Regions from separate parts of the Homo sapiens genome. Here all the other regions are linked to region 2. The links are contacts of gene promoters, found by promoter capture Hi-C in blood cells and fetal thymus (Javierre and others, 2016). All regions are on one chromosome and are shown on one strand. Each heading gives the region's core, a stretch centred on a gene start or on the middle of the fragment in contact. The rest is flanking DNA. Distances are from core to core; before and after follow the strand shown.

Evidence for each region. Contacts are between HindIII fragments. The CHiCAGO score rates a contact against its expected background, and 5 or more counts as called.
Region 1: the fragment with the promoter of PREX2 here is called in contact with the fragment with the promoter of C8orf34 in region 2 in 2 of 17 cell types (monocytes and M0 macrophages); the score reaches 5.1 in monocytes.
Region 3: a contact is called between a fragment that was not itself captured here and the fragment with the promoter of C8orf34 in region 2, in 1 of 17 cell types (M1 macrophages). The highest score is 5.2, in M1 macrophages.

What each region holds. Positions count from the first base shown.
Region 1 is chr8:67,950,571-67,953,346 of GRCh38, forward strand. It overlaps PREX2 (phosphatidylinositol-3,4,5-trisphosphate dependent Rac exchange factor 2), which reads left to right and starts at 1,476. Exons shown (of 40, transcript NM_024870.4): 1 at 1,476-1,965. The coding sequence starts at 1,825. The HindIII fragment of the contact is 877 bases long and covers 1,476-2,352 here.
Region 2 is chr8:68,329,507-68,332,206 of GRCh38, forward strand. C8orf34 (chromosome 8 open reading frame 34) reads left to right here and starts at 1,449. Exons shown (of 14, transcript NM_052958.4): 1 at 1,449-1,833. The coding sequence starts at 1,507. C8orf34-AS1 (C8orf34 antisense RNA 1) reads right to left here and starts at 1,985. Exons shown (of 3, transcript NR_038877.1): 1 at 1,801-1,985. The HindIII fragment of the contact is 3,988 bases long and covers 1-2,700 here.
Region 3 is chr8:67,838,146-67,840,845 of GRCh38, forward strand. No RefSeq gene overlaps it. Among named protein-coding and RNA genes, the nearest start is that of CPA6, 93 kb to the left of the region's middle. The HindIII fragment of the contact is 208 bases long and covers 1,179-1,386 here.

The sequences.
Region 1 (2,776 bases), core at 226-2,725, 380 kb before region 2:
GGGGAGGAAGAAATGCTGCCTGTAGTACATGGGGAGAAGGTTCAGTCATGCTTGCATTTCCCATTCATTTCTGGATGTGTGCTTCCTATGTCTTCCGCTTCTTTTGTTTATTGTTTACTAGGTGCTGTGAGGTCTGCTCTTTAATATGCTTTGCCCTTTGTTCTTCTGCCACAGGGTGTGAAGCCATCTATGTTGTTTGCCCTTTGCTCTTGGCTACCTCTAAATAGTCATTTGTAAAAGAAAGAGGAAAATCACATCTTGCCCATCAGCTTTGTGTACATCATTCGAAAATTTTATCTTTAATATACAAAGAAAGTACAATCCTTCTTTGTGTGGTTACAGAGGGGAATGGTCACACTATGCTCTGGAAAGACATCATCTGGAAAACCAATAGGTAATTATTTTAATGTAAATATAGTGAAAAGCATCTTTATGTTTTAGAGTTTTGCTAATGCTTTCAGTGACTGCAACAAATTAACATACCACTTTCTTGCAACAACTCTATTCACTCTTCAGTTTATTTAAATGCCATTAGTTTTAGACTGAAGTTGATCTGTGGAAAATATATGTGTATAATACCAATTCAAAAAAATATATAAATTGTTTTGTTTGTTAAATGTATTGGAAATATTTAAGGCTTAGTTTCCAAGTGAGAAAAGGCAATAAACTTTAACTTTAAAATCAAGAATGTTCTGTGTGTCTATCTTCAAAAATCTAAGATTATTTCCGTTATCTATCTAGCTTTCTATCTTCTGATGAGCATTCAACAACAGCTTTATCTTTTCAATTAGTGACACCGTCTTAAATCACAGCAGCTCTTAGAAACAAAACTGGCACAAATACCCTCGCCTCTCAATGGATTTACATACTATCTTGATGTTGAAAAAAGTTGTAGACATGGAAAACAGCACAGTACAAGGGTGATGCTTATTTTATCTGGGGTTTATTGCATGGGCAGAGGCTGTCATTTTCCCATAGTGTCTTCATTTATTATGCTAATTGACTTTCCAAGCTCAGACTGGAGGGTGTCTGCCCTGTGAACTATTCTCAGTTGGAGGGTTTTAAAAGCAAACCTGTTTTGTGCCTGAATGAAACAAAAAATCAATGTGTTTCTTTTCAAAGAGGGAGGGTCAATACCGTGGTTGTTTTTGTTCCCATCCAGTTATGTAACCGTGGGGACTTGTTTCTTTGCTTTCAGGATTTGTACGAAACACATTAAAGTTAAACAATAGCGGAGGCTTAGGAGTAACCCTCGAGCTGCGCCTTGGAGTGTGTGTCCCTGGGATTGGGAACCTCCTGTGAGTTCCATATCAAGTGCTGCTGTGTGTGTGTGTGTGTGTGTGTGTGCGTGTGTGTGTGTGTGTGCGCGCGCGCGCGTGTGTGTGATTAGCCAGTACGCAGTACTTCCCCAGGGTTGTGTTTCCTTTTTCCTGAGATTTGGCGAAGGGTAAAGGGTCGGAGTCACATGGATACAAAGCTTTTGATTAATGTCCAAGTCACTGCTGTGGCTGCCGAAGCCGCTTCCCCTCCAGCCCCGGCCGTGTGAGGCCAGAGCAGCGGGGCCGGGCGCGCAGGGCCTGGCCGGAGCCCCCACTCCCAGGAGTTTCCTCTGCAGAGCCCCGCGCCCCCCGCGCCGGGATTTCAGCCCGATCCCCTCCTCTCCCTGCGCCCAGCCTCTCCCCAGCATGTAAAGTCTTCTGTCTCTCCTCGGAGTTGGCGGAGGCGGCAACTTTCCATTCTCGCCGCCGGGGGCCGGGCAGCAGCGGGCGCGCGGGTCAGCGCTCAGCACGGCGGGCAGCGCCGCGCTGCGCACCGCCGCCGACCATGAGCGAGGACAGCCGCGGAGACAGCCGCGCCGAGAGCGCCAAGGACCTGGAGAAGCAGCTTCGCCTGCGCGTGTGCGTGCTCAGCGAGCTCCAGAAGACCGAGCGGGACTATGTGGGCACGCTGGAGTTCCTGGTGTCGGTGAGTGTCCCCGGCAGACGCAGGGGGACGTCCGGGCGGCGCGGGGCGCGGGTCCCGGAGTGGCTGCGGGAAGGACGCGCGGCATTGTCTGTGCGGGGACCCGGGACGGGTCGGGGCATCACAGGCGCGGGAATCCACGTGTGGACTCTGCGTTCGCGGGCGCGGTGACCCCCGCGGGGATTTGTTGGTGCCCCGAGACTCACTGAGTTGCGGGGGCCTTGGAGACCTCCAGGTCTGAAAAGTTAGCTCTAGAGAAGAGAGCTCCAGTCCAGGGAATCCCGGCTGCCCTATCTTCCCTCACTTTTCTTTTACCCGCCTCCCCAGTCTGCTCAAGTGCACTGTGTAATTGATTTTCCTTCTTGTTCTTTCCTGGAGACTTTGTTTTAAAGCTTTGGTTTTGTGATTAAAGGTCCAGTCGGCTACATCCAGGTACACTAAGTTAAAAAAAATCCTTGAATGTGCTCGAGCTTGAGTTCGTTACTCAGATAACATGGCAGTGGCCGCTTTAGTTATGGTCTTTGAGACAGAGGATTCTGGTGTAGGGGTACAGAGAGAGCAGCGGGGTGATGATCTCTAGCAGCTGTTGGATATTAAAGCCACATGTGGCGCTCACCCTGTCCTAGTCTTACAATTCCCTCCCCCCCGCCCCCCGCCCCGGCTTAAATCTGTCTTCTGCTCAGTTTCTGGTCCCCTGTTTACATGGCCCATGAGAGTGCTGTAATCAAGCTTCGGGACTTCGTGGAAGTGGGGATGTACTTATATTCCACGTTTCTGCTTGACTCACTGCCATCTGCTTTGAAAACGTCTCATT
Region 2 (2,700 bases), core at 199-2,698:
TCTACGCTATACCTTTTAGCAAATAGAAATGTTGGTATTCACTCTGTGTATTTAATTTCTCCTGGACACATTAAAAAATACATAAGTAAATATACCTTCGAACCAAAATGGAAAGCACGAGGCAACCCTGGACACCTCACTGCTATTTAACTTAACCCTCCCTAGGCAGATCATATGAGTCCGATTGTAAAAGTATTAATGTGGACATCTTTCCACTCTGGATCAAGTCCATTTCAGGTTATCAGGGATGGTTAAGCTCCTAGCTATTCTAGCAGATTTCTTATGTCTTAATGCATGAAATTAATAATAGTTCCTGGGATATTCCACACTTATCTATTACATGTTTCCACATATTTAAAATACAGAAGGAAAACATGAACACCAATAAAGAAACTATGAGTAACAGAAATCCAGAACACAGTGAAGAAAGAAAGAAAAAAATATATACTGCTGCAGTCAGCTTTTAGGAAAACTGTTTCCATCATTCTGAAAATTTATATTTATTAGAAATAAATCTAATTTTGGCAGCACATCATGGTTAGGAGCCAGGGAAATTGTCATTGGGACCTTAGTATTGTATTTCACAAGAAAGAGAGCTCTGTGAGGAAGCCTGGGCTATCTGCAAACCTTCGACTCGGAAATCCCTGCATAATAAGAAAGGTATTGGCTAAATTTGAGCAGCTCACGCAGTATCTAGAGGAAACATTATGAAGTGGGATAGTGTGGTGTCTGAGATGCAGTTATAGGTATACAGACATGACTCAAGGCGTGGATTAGGAAGGCCAACTTTGGAGGGGAGGGCTGGCTCGCTCATTTCTCTTCTCCCTGTCAAATGCTGAAAGGCTGGTTCCAGCCTTTGAGCTCCTGCACTTTGAGAGTTTTCAGCTGGGTTCTCAGGCTGCGTTCACCCGTCGACTTGCTCCAGGCCAAACCAGATTTTGAAAAGGAAGGCAACTTCTTTTTCGCGGCAAACCCTTAAACCCACGCACCTTCTCAAAACTCTGCCCTTCTCAACCCCTGCGCTAGAGTAGGCAGGGCAGAAGGTGCTGAGGAGAGGCTCAGAAGGGGCGGTGGGGACGATCCCCTTTCGAACTGCATTTGTAGCTGCCAAGGAGTAGCCAACAAGCACCAGATTTATGTGCACTTTGAAAGAAGCACCTTCACCATTGGCTTTTTAAGCGGCGCTGTCGCTAGGGAGCGGCTGGTAGGGCGAGCAGCCTCGGGGAGCAGCCCGGGCTGTTTGTTCCGTCACCGGGGAAAGGAGGTACACACAGTCGCGCGCGCACGGACACACACACACACGCACGCACGCACACACACCGGTGGCGAGTTCGAGCCCCGCGGCCCCTGTCCGCCCGCGTGCGCCCCTCGACACAGCTCGCCTCCCGCCCCCTGATTCCTGCTGCTGCCGCCCAGAGGAGAAAGGAACCTCTGCCTCGAATTTCCCCACTGCGCCGGGCGCTGCGGAGAGCGGCGAGGGTGGGCGCGAGGCGGAGAACGCGATGAATGAGTTCTCCCCTCGCCTCGGAGTTGTCTGAGTTGGCGGCGCTGCGCCCAGGCTTCCGGCTCTCAGCGCCCCACGCGCGCGTGGCTCCCCGGGCTGCCACCCACGCCCGCGGCCGGGGCCGAGCCAGCCACGCAGGGCAGCCGAGGCTCCGGAGCTCCTGTCCCGGCCCCAGTCCGGGTAAAAGGAGGGTTGTCCCCAGCGGAGGCGCACAGCCGCGCGTTCTCCCTGCACTCTCTTCGCGGTCCCATCTGTTCCCCATGGCGTCTCATCCGCAAACCCGGATCCAGGCTTACCTGGAGAAGAACAAGATCGGTCCCCTGTTTGAGGTAAGGCGCTGTGGAGGAGGGCAGTCCCGTTGTCTTTAGGGGAAGGGGTGCAGTAATGAAAACAGAACACTCCCAATCCCACCCCTCCCAGGGAAGGAGGGCTAGAGAACCAACGCGCGGGAGAGGGCGCCCTGGGATTCACTGGCATTCGCTCTGTCCCGGCCAGGTGTCCTGGAACGCGGCCGGGCGGGCACTTAGCCAGTTACCTGAACGCGGACAGGTGAGCTCGGGAGGGCCCAGCCTCAGCCTGGCAGGGGAAGTTTTGGCCCTCTGACTGTCCTGCACCTCTCAGCTACATGTTCAGGACCCGGGCAGGCTGAGGCAGGCGACGCATACGGATGCACACACTCAGACTGTGTTGCACACGCACACTTTCTTTTTTGAATTCACGCTATCTTGAGTGTTCGTGTTGGATTTTCTTTTTTCTTTTCTTTTCTTTCCTTCTTTTTTTTTTTTTTTTTTTTTTTTTTTTTAATGAGGGCGGTAATAGAACCCGAAAAGGTGGAGGAGGTGCTTAGCAGTTAATACAATTAACTGGAAGACAGCTGAACTGGTGAGGAGTAGGCTTCAGTCGGTGCGGGCGTGATGAATGAAATTGGCAAACTGAGAGACTGCCATTTGGTCACTGGACGAAAGGAGAGTCCTTTGCACTGCAGACCCCACATGTGTTAGCAGGAGAAAGGGACGGAGAAAGGTTCTGAAAAGCACACACGTATTTGTGGAAGAAGACTATAGCTCTGAGCTGGTTTTGTTTTTTTTTCTCTCTCTCGCCATTAAAGAATTTAAGACAAAAATACAGTAGAAGGAAGAGCGCGAGGACACGAGAAAATGAGAACAAGAGATTGAAGCCTGGCACCAGCAAAGCGT
Region 3 (2,700 bases), core at 33-2,532, 490 kb before region 2:
TTCTTTGATCACAGAACTTTGTCATACGTATACATCTAGCACATATCACTGTAGTATGGTGTGAGTGCTACATGTCATGGGTTATAAGATCACAAAATTCAATGAAAGGAAGGAAGTATAGGAAAAGTAATGAGATCGTCTAAGTAATAAATGCAGTGTGACAGTCATGGCATTGAAGATGAAATCAAATATGCATGGTTAATAGCATTGGTGGAAACTTCCTCTTCTGCTAGATGTTTTATTCTTAATAAATCTTAACCAGATGCATGTATGTTTGCTACATTGCCATTTTAATGTGAAACTGACTTTTCTAACCAACTCTTTTCCTGCAATACTTAGTATCAGTTGCTACCATCCCTGACCAGCATGATATCATATGGAAGTTGTTTTTGACTGAGGAAAATTTTCAATGTATCAGTCATGTAAAATGAATACAGATAACTCATCATGCTTATTCTGTCATTCGATTCTGGCCTGTCTGTAACCCTACTTTAGTTTTCATTATACTTACCCCTTGAATGAATTAAGAAAAACTTGTTAAAATTACTCGTGAACAGTTTGCTCCGATGCTATAAGCAAAGTATTTGATAGATTAGTAGCTCTGACTCTCAGATGCAAAATTCATGAACTTGAATTCTTTTTCCAACTTTTTTTTCCCTAGGTCTTTCACATGTTCCTGACCTTGATTTTAAATTTTAACTTAGCTCTACTGAATCTATGATATTTGGACTATGTGCTAATTGTCAAATTAAAGGTACTTTCTTCTCACATAATGATGCCTTTTGTACATTATAAAGTAAAAGGAGAAGACTATACATCCATTTTTAAATGCTCTAATTTCTTTCTAACATTCTTAAATTGATATGCCATTGTTGTACATTTTTGGTGGGCACATAACTGCTCTAATTTCTTACACACATACATATAACAACATGTCAATGGTTGTTATCCTCCAGTGATGGTGGTATGGTAGCAGACATTTGTGGTTTGGCTCCCATCCCCATTCTTTCTCCTTCAGGCTTTAGCCCCCAGTCTCACTAATGGTATCAAGGTCTCCACTACTTGTAGCCCTTGTGGTCTGGGAAGTGGGTTCCACCCCTGGTTCCCCCAGTCTGTTGGCACACTGAGCTAGGGGAGGACTCAGGGCCAGGCCCTGAACCAACACATCTCATTGCCAAAGCTTTGGTTTCAGCCATCAAGGCTGCAGAGCCTTTCCCATGGGATGTGGAGTTGGAGGTAAGACAGTACTGGCATTTTTGCAGTACAGTCACACTGCAGTCTCTGTCGGGGAGAAAAGATTTCTTTCCTCACCCATTAGTAGGTTCATGGATGAGGCACCTATATAAAAGATTAACAAGAGAAAAGCATAGAAATTTATTTAATAAAAGCTTTATGAGAGCCTTTAGAAATTAAGACTCAAAGAGTTAGGAAAACCTGTGTATTTTTATGCTTAGGTTGAATGAAGAGGTGCACAGTGGTGAAAAGTATGAGTGGACCAAGGAAATGTGATCTAATGGTAATAAACTGAGGGGACTTAGCAAGGCCTGCTTACTCAGATTCTTCTCTGTGTCCTTATGTCTTCAGAGATGAGGATGTGTCTTTCCTCCAGGTATAGGGAGGGCACCCCTAGAATGGGGGTCTTATGATCTGCTTCACAGGAGAAGAACAAGGGGAAGATGAGAGAAACCTTTCTGCTTCTGCTGTTTTCTCAAATGCCAATGTGCCATATTTTGGGTTAATGTGTCCTGAGCCCAGCCACCCTGAAGAGACAGTCTGACTGGGAATGGAATGAGCCTCATGGACAGCAGAGTCAGAGGAGGCAAGATAGAAATCTGGAGCTGGTGACACCATTTGACCTCAGATCAAGTGGCACCTGAAATTAGTTCAAACCCTGCTCTTTTCAGTTTTAGGAGCCAAGAGATTCCCTTTATGCTAAAGCAATTTGAATTGGGTTTTACGGCTGCCTACAGTAGAAAGAGAGTCTTAACCATTTACAAATCATGGATGATTATGTCCTTAGTATTTTACTATATTTTTCATTTTTTTCTATGATGAATATAATGGCCACAAAAAAAAATCCCATCCCCACCCCCCAATAAATGTTGCAAAATTGTTTTCAGTTCTCCAGGATGGTACTGATGAATTATTTTCCTTATTTTGGGTGTTGAGAAATTTTGTTTTTTTCTTTATGTTGCATCTGAATATTTACTTTTAGTTTGCAGGTAAATAATTTATTCTCTTAAAGAAACAATTTATTCCTAAATCTTGTTCAAGCTGTTTTGGTAGTGGACAATACCCAGGATGAGTTTAGAATAATCCTCTTACTTTATTTTAAGCTAACTTAGATTTAAGAAAGACTAAATTTTCTTTGTCTAGGTCAATATTTACCATTCTATATAGATTTCCATCCTAGGTGAAGAGAACTTTGACACATGTTTTTCTTCTGGGACAACTTTCTTTCAATTAGTTGGTACATATTTTATTAATACAAGGCCATAAGTTTAATATGGCCCCCACAGAATAATTTTGATTAACAAATATTTGCTGAGAAACAGTCTGGGTTCTTAAACTTCTCAGTTTAAAAATTGCTGAATTCAGGGAAGTCGAAGCATGAAGGTAGGGTGCAGGTGGGAGATAGGTATCACATTTAATTGAGAGAAGCCAGAAGGTTGGCATGGAAATCTGGAAAAAATAAGTTAT